Regions from separate parts of the Homo sapiens genome. Here region 2 is linked to region 1. Evidence: promoter capture Hi-C in 16 types of primary human blood cells and fetal thymus (Javierre and others, 2016). All regions are on one chromosome and are shown on one strand. The core of a region is centred on a gene start or on the middle of the fragment in contact, and the rest is flanking DNA. Distances in the headings are between cores, read along the strand shown.

Evidence for each region. Contacts are between HindIII fragments. The CHiCAGO score rates a contact against its expected background, and 5 or more counts as called.
Region 2: a fragment that was not itself captured here is called in contact with the fragment with the promoter of NT5C3A in region 1 in 1 of 17 cell types (neutrophils); the score reaches 8.7 in neutrophils.

What each region holds. Positions count from the first base shown.
Region 1 is chr7:33,060,507-33,065,520 of GRCh38, reverse strand. It overlaps NT5C3A (5'-nucleotidase, cytosolic IIIA), which reads left to right and starts at 2,745. Exons shown (of 9, transcript NM_001002010.5): 1 at 2,745-2,953. The coding sequence starts at 2,816. It overlaps LOC124901610 (a long non-coding RNA gene), which reads right to left and starts at 2,336. Exons shown (of 4, transcript XR_007060279.1): 1 at 1,873-2,336; 2 at 1,374-1,492. RefSeq lists an enhancer at 2,231-2,390 and silencers at 2,631-2,750, 3,051-3,110. The HindIII fragment of the contact is 6,622 bases long and covers 1-5,014 here.
Region 2 is chr7:32,878,747-32,883,760 of GRCh38, reverse strand. It overlaps KBTBD2 (kelch repeat and BTB domain containing 2), which reads left to right. Exons shown (of 4, transcript NM_015483.3): 2 at 3,819-4,326. The coding sequence starts at 4,157. Among named protein-coding and RNA genes, the nearest start is that of KBTBD2, 11 kb to the left of the region's middle. The HindIII fragment of the contact is 4,245 bases long and covers 678-4,922 here.

The sequences.
Region 1 (5,014 bases), core at 1,496-3,995:
CTGCTAGGCTCCAGCAATCCTCCCACCTCAGCCTCCTGAGTAGTTGGGACTACAGGCATGCAGTGTCAGGCCTCTGAGCCCAAGCTAAGCCATCATATACCCTGTGACCTGCAAGTTATATGCCCAGATGGCCTGAAACAAGTGAAGAATCACAAAAGAAGTGAAAATGGCCTGTTCCTGCCTTAACTGATGACATTCCACCACAAAAGAAGTGAAAAATGGTGGGTCCCTGCCTTAACTGATGACATTACCTTGTGAAATTCCTTCTCCTGGCTCATCCTGGCTCAAAAGCTCCCCCAGTGAGCACCTTGCGACCCCCACCCCTGCCTGCCAGAGAACAACCCCCCTTTGACTGTTAACACATTTTCCTTTACCTACCCAAATATTACAAAACGGCCCCACCCCTATCTCCCTTCACTGACTCTCTTTTGGACTCATCCCGCCTGCACCCAGGTGAAATAAACAGCCTTGTTGCTCACACAAAGCCTGTTTGGTGGTCTCTTCACACGGACGAGAGTGAAACGCAGCACCATGCCCAGCTAATTTCTTTGGTTTTTCAGGGATTGTAGAGACAGGGTCTCGCTATGTTGCCGAGACTGGTCTCAAACTTGTGGCCTCAAGCAATCCCCCAACCTTGGGCTTCCAAAGTGCTGAGATTACAGGCACCAGCCACCTCACCTGGCCTGATTTCTTTCATCAGTATTTTGTAGTTCTCCGTGTAGAGATCTGTACTAGTCTGTTTTCAGGCTGCTGATAAAGACATACCCCAGACTGCGCAATTTACAAAAGAAAGAGGTTTAATTGGACTTCCAGTTCCACGTGGCTGGGGAAGCCTCACAATCATAGTGGAAGGCAGGGAGCAAGTCCCATCTTACATGGATGGGAGCAGACAAAGAGAGAATGAGGAAGACGCAAAAGCGAAAACCCTGATAAAACCATCAGATCTCCTGATACTTAAGTCACTACCACGAAAACAGTATGGAAGAAAACACCCCAATGATTCAATTATCTCCCACCAGGTCCCTCCCACAACACATGGGAATTATGGGAGTATAATTCAAAATAAGATGTGGGTGAGGATACAGGGTCAAACCATATCAAGATCTTCCATGTCTTTCAACAAGAATAATTAATATGTTAATTCACATAGAAGCTGAAATAGTCTCCAAACATGGCCAACCCTCTTAGATTCAGAAACACAAGGTTTACACTTATAAAAAACATATGGACCCCTTTCCTCCTGGAAATTTACTACCAGGGTTTGTAGTCTAATTGACTATACTCCTACAGCTTTAACATCTCATATAGATGATAATCAGACCTATGATATAGTATAACTAGTTAAAATAGAAATCATATTTCAGAGTACCCACATTCTTCCCATGTGCAGTTGACGGGCCATATTACAAAAACAAAATTTGGAACTCCATTTCTGTTTTAGATTGTCCACAGCTTCAAGACGAATGTTATCGTCTACAAAATGTTTAAAATCCTGAAATTATAGAAACGTGGCTTTAGTCTCTACCCATTCAAAATAATATGTAATATATGGAAAATGTTTTTGTTGAGGAAGAAAGATAAATGAGACTGTGACCATCTTAGGCCTCACAATCAGACAACATTTAAGTCATATTGGTATTTGGTGCAAAACTGGATTCATAAAAAATTACTTTGGCGACAAAATGACACAGTAGTCTAGATATTGATACTCAAATATTCTGGGTATTAAAACTCAGTCTTCTTCAGGTTATACTCCCAGCTAACTTACTTTGGGACACGTTCTCGGTCTATACTGAGTCTGTGTTCCCAGGCTTAAGTCCTCAAACTTGGCCGAGTAATAAAACTAACCATGATTTCTTTAAGTTTTAGTACCTGTTATTTCACCTTTCGGTCGACAAATCGTTTTTCTCATGTTCCTCTGTCTTACATCAATTTAATTTGTAGACCAGCCAAATGACCTAAAAGGCTAGAAGGAAACAATTTTTCCTCCCCTACAACTATTTCCTCTAGTCCTCCGGCTGAAAGTTGTTCCACGTCCTGGGCAGAGAGAGCCCCACCAGGCAGCACCACCAGCTCCACAGAGTTGGAGCGATTCCCCCAAGAAGCTCCCCTGCGCCCCTCCTCACCCCCAGAGACCAGCAGAAGAAATGGCATCTATCCCTTGGAAGACACTAGGCAGGAGAGAACAACTGCAAGCCCTTCTGCTCACACAGAAAAAAGGATGGCGGAGGTGGCGAATGGGATGTAGCAGAAACCCCGCGGCTGCGGCGGAAGGGACACCGCCCCTCTCCAGCCTAACTCTGAGCCATCTTCCCCCTGTTGTTATAGCACTTAGAACGGACGCCACTGCGCAGGTCACACCGTGCCGCGCAGCCTTCTGGGGGTCGGAGTCCAGAGGGGCTGAGGCGCGAAGGCGGAGACCGACTTCTTAGCGGGCCGCAGTTGGAATTAGATTTCTACTGGGGCGGGGCTCGAGCGAACCACGGCCTAATCCTCATTAGCAGAGAAGGATAATTACCGCAATACTCTGCCCTGCCCTGACAGCAGCTCGTGAGACCCTGAGTCTGCTGAAGGCCGCCTCCAGCCTGGGCTCCGGGCACAGGCCACACCCCTCCCGCCGCGTCCTGGCCTCTCCCATCGATGGCGTGTGGGTGGGGCTTCGTGGGGGCGGAGCTGCGCGGGGCGGGGCGTCGCTGCGCGGGGCGGGGCGTCGCGGGCTCGTCCGTGATGCTCTGGGATCCCGCGCTTCCGAGACTCGCAGTCTACGCGAGCTGCCTGTTTTTTTCCTGCTTGGACGCGCATGAGGGCCCCGTCCATGGACCGCGCGGCCGTGGCGAGGGTGGGCGCGGTAGCGAGCGCCAGCGTGTGCGCCCTGGTGGCGGGGGTGGTGCTGGCTCAGTACATATTCACCTTGAAGAGGAAGACGGGGCGGAAGACCAAGATCATCGAGATGGTGAGTGTGGAGGCTCGGCGCGCCCAGAGCACGCGAGGGGCCGGCTGGGCCGTCCGCTGGCCTCGGCAGCCTGTGCTGGGCCGCTGTTCGGTCGCGACGGGGAGCTGCCGGCGTCGCCTGTCAGGCTGGGATCTCGCTAGCTCGGGACGCGCAGCTTGGGGGACCCGGCCGCCCCGCGTGCGGCCACTCCGCGGGCTTGGTGACCAGGGTTGGGTCCCCGGCTGCGGCCCTTGGCTGCCCGTGGTCTTTGTTAGGTTTCCGTTTGAAGGAACAAGGCAGAAAATAGATGAATCGGACACAGGCTACTTTGTGCTGCAAAACCCGTTTCTCTAGAGATAAGCTGCATGTCCTGGGCAGGTGGCTCCTTCTCTCCCTGCCTTGCTCCCGCCCTCCCCCCGGATCCGCGTCAAACCGTTGCCGCTAATCTAGTTGCAATTCCCGCAGAGGACTAGTTTTATGTTGGGGCTGCCGTGAGTTAGATTATGAAAATGTGCAATATCTAAAATTTTACAAGAATGGCAATCCAGGAGAAATTCAGGATAGTTTATTTTGTATTTGAATGTATTCCTTCTTGTCTCAAAACTCCCACGAAATATCTTTGTTTTCATCTTAACTCCCAAAGCTCTTGTATACATTTTCGAATTTAATTTTTTATTGAAGAGGGTGTCTCAAGAATTCCCTTTGAGATACATTATAAGTAATTGTTTCAAAAATGAGGATATTTAGTTTCGTTTTGTATTTTAATTAGAACCCACTCAGGAAGACAATTCTTGCACAAACTTGCACGCTTATGTATTTCCTGAAATGCATAATCCTGGGTATACGCCTGACCGTGTGCTATACATGTGAACATCTAGGGTCAGATGATTTATGATAGAAAAAAATTTAAAATCTACACTAAATAATATCATTTTAGGGTGTAATACTTGGAATTTCTGAGCACCTGCAATATGTTCCAACTGACGAAAGACACGATTTGTCCTATTGGTTGTACTGACCCCAGGTTGAATACAGATGTATTTGCATAATTAAAATTAGCCAGTGTCCCAGCTATTTGGGAGGCTGAGAGGAAGATCACTGGAGTCTGGGAGTTCAAGGTTATAATCACACCTGTGGATAGCTACTGCACTCCAGCCTGGGAAACATAGCGAGACCCTGTCTCTTAAAAAAAAAAGTTAATTCCCACTTGTCTCATATTCCAATAATATTCCCTAATTTTGAATTAATTTATTCTTAAAGGGTCTTAATAATTCTAAAGGCTTATTAAAATTCATTTGTCCCACATCTGTATGCCCACAGCAGCAAATGGTTTTAACTCAGAAGTTTCATTTTGCTTTTGTTGCTTTCCTGCTTAGAAAACTTGGCTTTCTTTTGCCCAAGGTTAATAATGCCTATGTAGGGGAAAAAACCGAGTTGCCATATCTCCCTGCCTGTGCTTAAACTATGGATTGGTCTGTATACCACTTATCTAAGCCAAGTAAGGTTAAAAATCAGTGTGTTCACAAAATCCTTCAATGATACCATCATAGGAACAGTTTGCTATCTTTGTGACAAATAATGAAGACCTATCTAGAATACCAACTTATTGGTACTAAAGAAATCAGTCAATATTTACATGTATGCATAGTATATTAATTCAGATTGTAATATATGTGTAGCCTGCTAGTAGCTTTTCAATGGAAAAAGTGAAAAGAGCTTCATGTTAACTTTTTTAATTTTAATAGGTTGCTTCTTCAAGTGGAAGAAGTATTTGACTGGGGGTCAGAAGACCTGGGTTGGAATCCTAGTTCCATCTTTCTGTAATAATGTAGGTCTGCTCTGCCCATCCTCTGCCCTCCTCCCTCAGAAAAATCTCTGCAAACCCATGATGTCCAACAGACATAGCTCATATTGGTCACAGCTAACGGAGTTAACTACCTAACCAAGTTGGGCCTATCTAACTGGCTAAGAAAACCAATAACTTCTGGGACTTGGTCAAAATGATGCATTGTCTTGCAAGAGTTTTTAATTGAGAGACATGAGGAAGTTGCTAGTGGGTTGTGTATGCTACAGCTGAAATAT
Region 2 (5,014 bases), core at 1,551-4,050, 180 kb after region 1:
AATAAACATTTGTGGAATTTAGCCATTCATTCAGAAAAGAAAATTAAGTCAACAGTTTCCTTGATACCTGAGAATTAATCTGGGGAAGCTGGCTTCTACAGATAACAGGGTCTGTGACGTTTTGAAGCTGATTTTAGATATAGAATGATATACAAAATGTAATTATTGAAAAGGGAAAATTTGTAAAATACGTCACATCAGTTGGTAATTAATATAGTACATACTGAATTGCTTCAGAGGATTTAGAGTACTGGTTTCAAGTTTTAGGAGGGAAGGAGCCTTTTACAGAAAATGTTTGTGTTGTGGGCATTTGAAGATGGTTGGTTGATCGTCCTAAACTTTGCAAATTTTCACATTTTTATTTTTATTTTCGTGAGACAGAGTCTTGCTGTGTTGCCCAGGCTGGAATGCAGTGGTGTGATCTCAGTTCACTGCAACCTCCTCCTCCTGGGTTCAAGTGAGTTTCAGCTTGAAGCAGCCTCAGCCTCCAGAGTAGCTAGTATTACAGGCATGAGCCACCATACCCGACTAATTTTTGTATTTTTAGTAGAGACAGGGTTTTGCCATGTTGGTCAGGCTGGTCTTGAACTCCAGGCCTCAGGCCTCAAGTGATCTGCCCTCCTAGGCCTCCCAAAGTGCTGGGATTACAGGCGTGAGTTACCACACCTGGCCAAGCTTTCACATTTTTAGTTAATACCTTTTGAAGTCCATGCTCCCAGAGGGGTGAGATACTTAATTTTATTTATTATTTTTTGTTTTTGTTTTGTTTTGTTTTTGAGACGGAGTCTTGCTCTGTGACTTGGGCTGGAGTGCAGTGGCACGATCTCGGCTCACTGCAACCTCCGTCTGCCAGGTTCAGGTGATTCCCTGGCCTCAGCTTCCTGGGTAGCTGGGATTACAGCACGTGCTACCATGTCCAGCTAATTTTTTTGTGTTTTTAGTAGAGATGGGGTTTCGCCATGTTGGCCAGGCTGGTCTTGAACTCCTGACCTCAAGTGATCCACCGACCTCAGCCTCCCAAAGTGCTGGGATTCCAGGCATGAGCCACCACTCCTGACTTTAATTTTATTTTTAATTGTACTTGTTTATTTACTTAGTGTCATATCTGAATGACTTACTTTTTCTGCCTATTTTAAGGTAACTTTTACGTAGGCTGCCTCTCCAGGAAGAAAATGTATCCTGGATTACAAAAGAAGAGTGGGAAATAGGGGAATCTAATAAAGCTGTGTTAATGAGTATGACTTTGTACTTTTTTAGAAGCAGACTTCAATTGTTTTAATACGGTTTCATGGATACGATAAAAAATCAAATCTGGCAAAACCCAGTCGTAAATGAGGCCTCCCCAAAATCATTGCAGAAAATCATATTATTATATGGTTAATGAAATGACCAGAGTGAGCCTGTACCGCTAGCCTGCAAGAAATTCTGGGGTCTAGCGGCATGATTTAAGTCTGTCTTGGCCCTGGCCACCAGTTGCTGTCACCTTGTTTAAACATGGATGGGGACAATTTTGAGTCCAGCTACTGGGATTAGGACTTCTACTTTATTAATGCATATATTTCTGTAAAATATATTTCTAGAAGTAGGATTAGTAGATTGGTATTAAGCATTTCCAGTGCCAAGTATTATTAATACTTGCAATTTTGAAATTCAAAAAGCTCTGAAAAATCAAGTTGTTAAAAAAAAAAAATCTTTGCTAGTAAAACCTGACCTGAAGTAACGTGAGGCTATATATAGTCTTTATTTTTGACACCATTCATAGTTGCCTCAGCAAAGATAATATGTTTGATTATCCATTGCTACCTGAGACTTCTTGAGAGGATTTCATAATGTAGGGTACATGTGTCACAATACCTCTATAAAATCTGGAAAAGTGTAAATTCTGGAGCGTGTCTTGTGTCAAGAGTTTTGAATAAGGGATTGTGGGTATGTATCAACTTACTCCTCTGTGTAAGAATGCTTGTTTTTCCACACCCTCAACAACACTATGCCTTGCTGCATTATTAATGTGTGGAAATAGCCAGTGATTTTAAGTATTATTTGCCTTAGAGATTATAGTAGTAGAACTCAGATTTATAGTGTGACATGCTGTTCTGGAAGAGCAAAGTTATTACCTTAAATGACCCAGAGTCTCACTCTGCCTTTGCACCTGTTTTAGTTACTTTCAAAGTTAACTTGGCTGGAAACTTGACTGTATATCAAGTTAGCAGTTACTGTAATAGTATAGTTTGTCAGGAAGTGTATGTCATTCTCTTTGACATAATGGATGGTATTTTGTGAGGAAAAATAACAGTGATTCTAATGATGGAGTCATTTCTCATTATGGTAACTAATGGTCATCTTAACAGTTGGTGAAAAAAGAGGTGGCAGTTTTTATAGTTAACATATTAGTAGCATTCTATTTGGGATTTTCCTCTTTTCCTGATTTGTAATTCCTTTGCCATGTGTTGTGAATACTGAGTTCCAAATTAAATTTTTATTCAGCTGGAATTTTGGTTTTTTTTTTTGATGAATGGTATGCAGTATGACTAAAGCCTAGGTTTTTTTGCCCCCTTGAGCAGTTAGCCACTTCCAACATTATTTGTTGAAATAAACCATTCTTCCTAACTTGAGATACCATATTTATCTTTATCATATCTAATTTCTTTTTTTTTTTTTTTGAGACGGTGTCTTGCTCTGTCACCCAGGCTGGAGTGCAGTGGTGCGATCTTGGCTCACTGCAATCTCCACCTCCCGGGTTCAAGCAATTCCCCTGCCTCAGCCTCCTGAGTAGCTGGGATTACAGGCACACACTACCACGGCCAGCTAACTTTTGTATTTTTAATAGAGACAGGATTTCACCATGTTGGTCAGGATGGTCTCGAACTCCTGACGTTGTGATCCGCCTGCCTCGGCCTACCAAAGTGCTGGGATTACAGGCATGAGCCACTGTGCCCGGCCAGTCATCTCTGGTTTCTTATGTGTACTTGGTTTTATGGCAGTTTTATAGTACATTTAATATTTTCATAAAAATCATTAAAAACTTGCCCTTCTTCCCCTCAAATATCTTAGCAACCTTTGTGCATTCTTCCAGATAAATCCCTTGAAAATAGGATTTAGATTGGATTTGTATTAAAGTTACATATTAATTCGGAGAACATTCATATTTGTGTAATATGGAGTTTTCTGGGTAGGAACATATACCCATTACATTTTATGTTTTTTTTTTTTAAGTAAAATATACTTTTATTTGTAAAGATTCCTAGGAAAGAACCACTCCACAAAGAAACAAATTACATATAGTTCTCCTAGTGAATTGAATGGCAAATTTGAAAATTAACAGTTTGAATCTATTTACCGTATAGTTTAAATTAAATATGAAGACTTTGTGAACGTGTTTAAAATATATTCGGAGAACGAGAAATCTCTGTGTAGGAGAGCAGGTTTTTTGTTTTTTTAAAAAAATATTTTTTCTTAAATATTATGATCATTTGTTGCTACCAGACAAATAACTAAGAGATCTGGCTTTGGTAATTTAAGTTGTCTATTTTGAAAGAGCTTTAAAAATGTGTACTTATTCATGTGTTCGTTATTTTCTGTGACAGTTATATTTTGTATAGAAGGCAAAAGTTAACTTGAAATTACAACTGGTAATTTTCTTGTTTTTTAATTTTAAATGTAGACTAAGAATCTTCATTTTTGTCATGTTTCACTTTTATGGTAATGTCTAAAGTTGAACTTGAAATAAATATGATTTCTATTTAAGGCTGCCATTTTAAACGTTATATTCTAAAACCGTACTGGCCTAGATACTACAACTGAACTTTTTTTCTTTTTAGTTACTCCACAGGATCCGCTGAACATAGGATGTTGCCACAAAATCTACCTCGTGTATTTTTCTCTTTCACTCATGAGCTGCACAATTGCAGATTTGAGCACAATGTCTGCAGACTGTGTTGAAAAACTCTGAAGAACCTAATTAACACAGGATGACCTAGGAGTGATTCTAAGTCTGTGTAACAAGATATTACTCATTAGTGAATGTGTCAGTCTTGGTACTGAATGCTGCAGATAACAGCAAGTAGGTTCTCCTTTATTTCTGAAGTATTCACTTGACCTTCCATCAGTAAGACGGACTTTTCTAATCTGTTCCTGGAGATATTAATGGAATACAGTCATGTCCACTCAAGACGAGAGGCAGATCAATACTGAATATGCTGTGTCATTGTTGGAACAGTTGAAACTGTTTTATGAACAGCAGTTGTTTACTGACATAGTGTTAATTGTTGAGGGCACTGAATTCCCTTGTCATAAGATGGTTCTTGCAACATGTAGCTCTTATTTCAGGTAAGTACTTTTAATGTTTTAAATAGAAATTCTTTGAAATGTTATTTAATTTTTTAAAAAGCCACATCTCAATTTTTGTTTTTAAGTTTTGCTTAAGGTTTCTATTCAGATGATGTAGTACTTGGCAAATCTCATTCTTGCATGTGTAAGAGACACATGAAAGAAGTTTTATAAAGGTTGAAATACAAGAAATGTGTTGCAATTAACTAAGGTAAAGTTTTAATGTTGGGAAGGCAGAAAGGTTTAGAATATTCTTTTTCCATTAAAAGAGAAAGAAAAATGGGATAATTTACACTTTGAGATTTTAAAATGCTGCCTTTAGAAAACAGTGATCTCTGTTTTTAAACTGACAAGTTATAGGCTCAAATAGTAATTTTTAGAGGGTAAAAATTGGTGCTGTTAGATAGGTTAAGACTTTTCTTTACAAAATATATTTTTTCTCACTCTTTACTATTACCATTTGTGATATTTCTTTATACTAACTAGACTCTTTGCCAGATTTAAATATTTAATAACTAGTAACGTTGGTGTTCTCTATGCCTCTGAATGCAGAAGTTAATTTAGTTACTCTTTGCTAATAACAAATACATAAAGCTTAACTTTACATTTTTATGATCTTTTGCGTCTTTGTTGTACGTTTCCTGAGCAGAATAGAAGCCAAGGCATAGATGGATTGCTTTATTTGTTC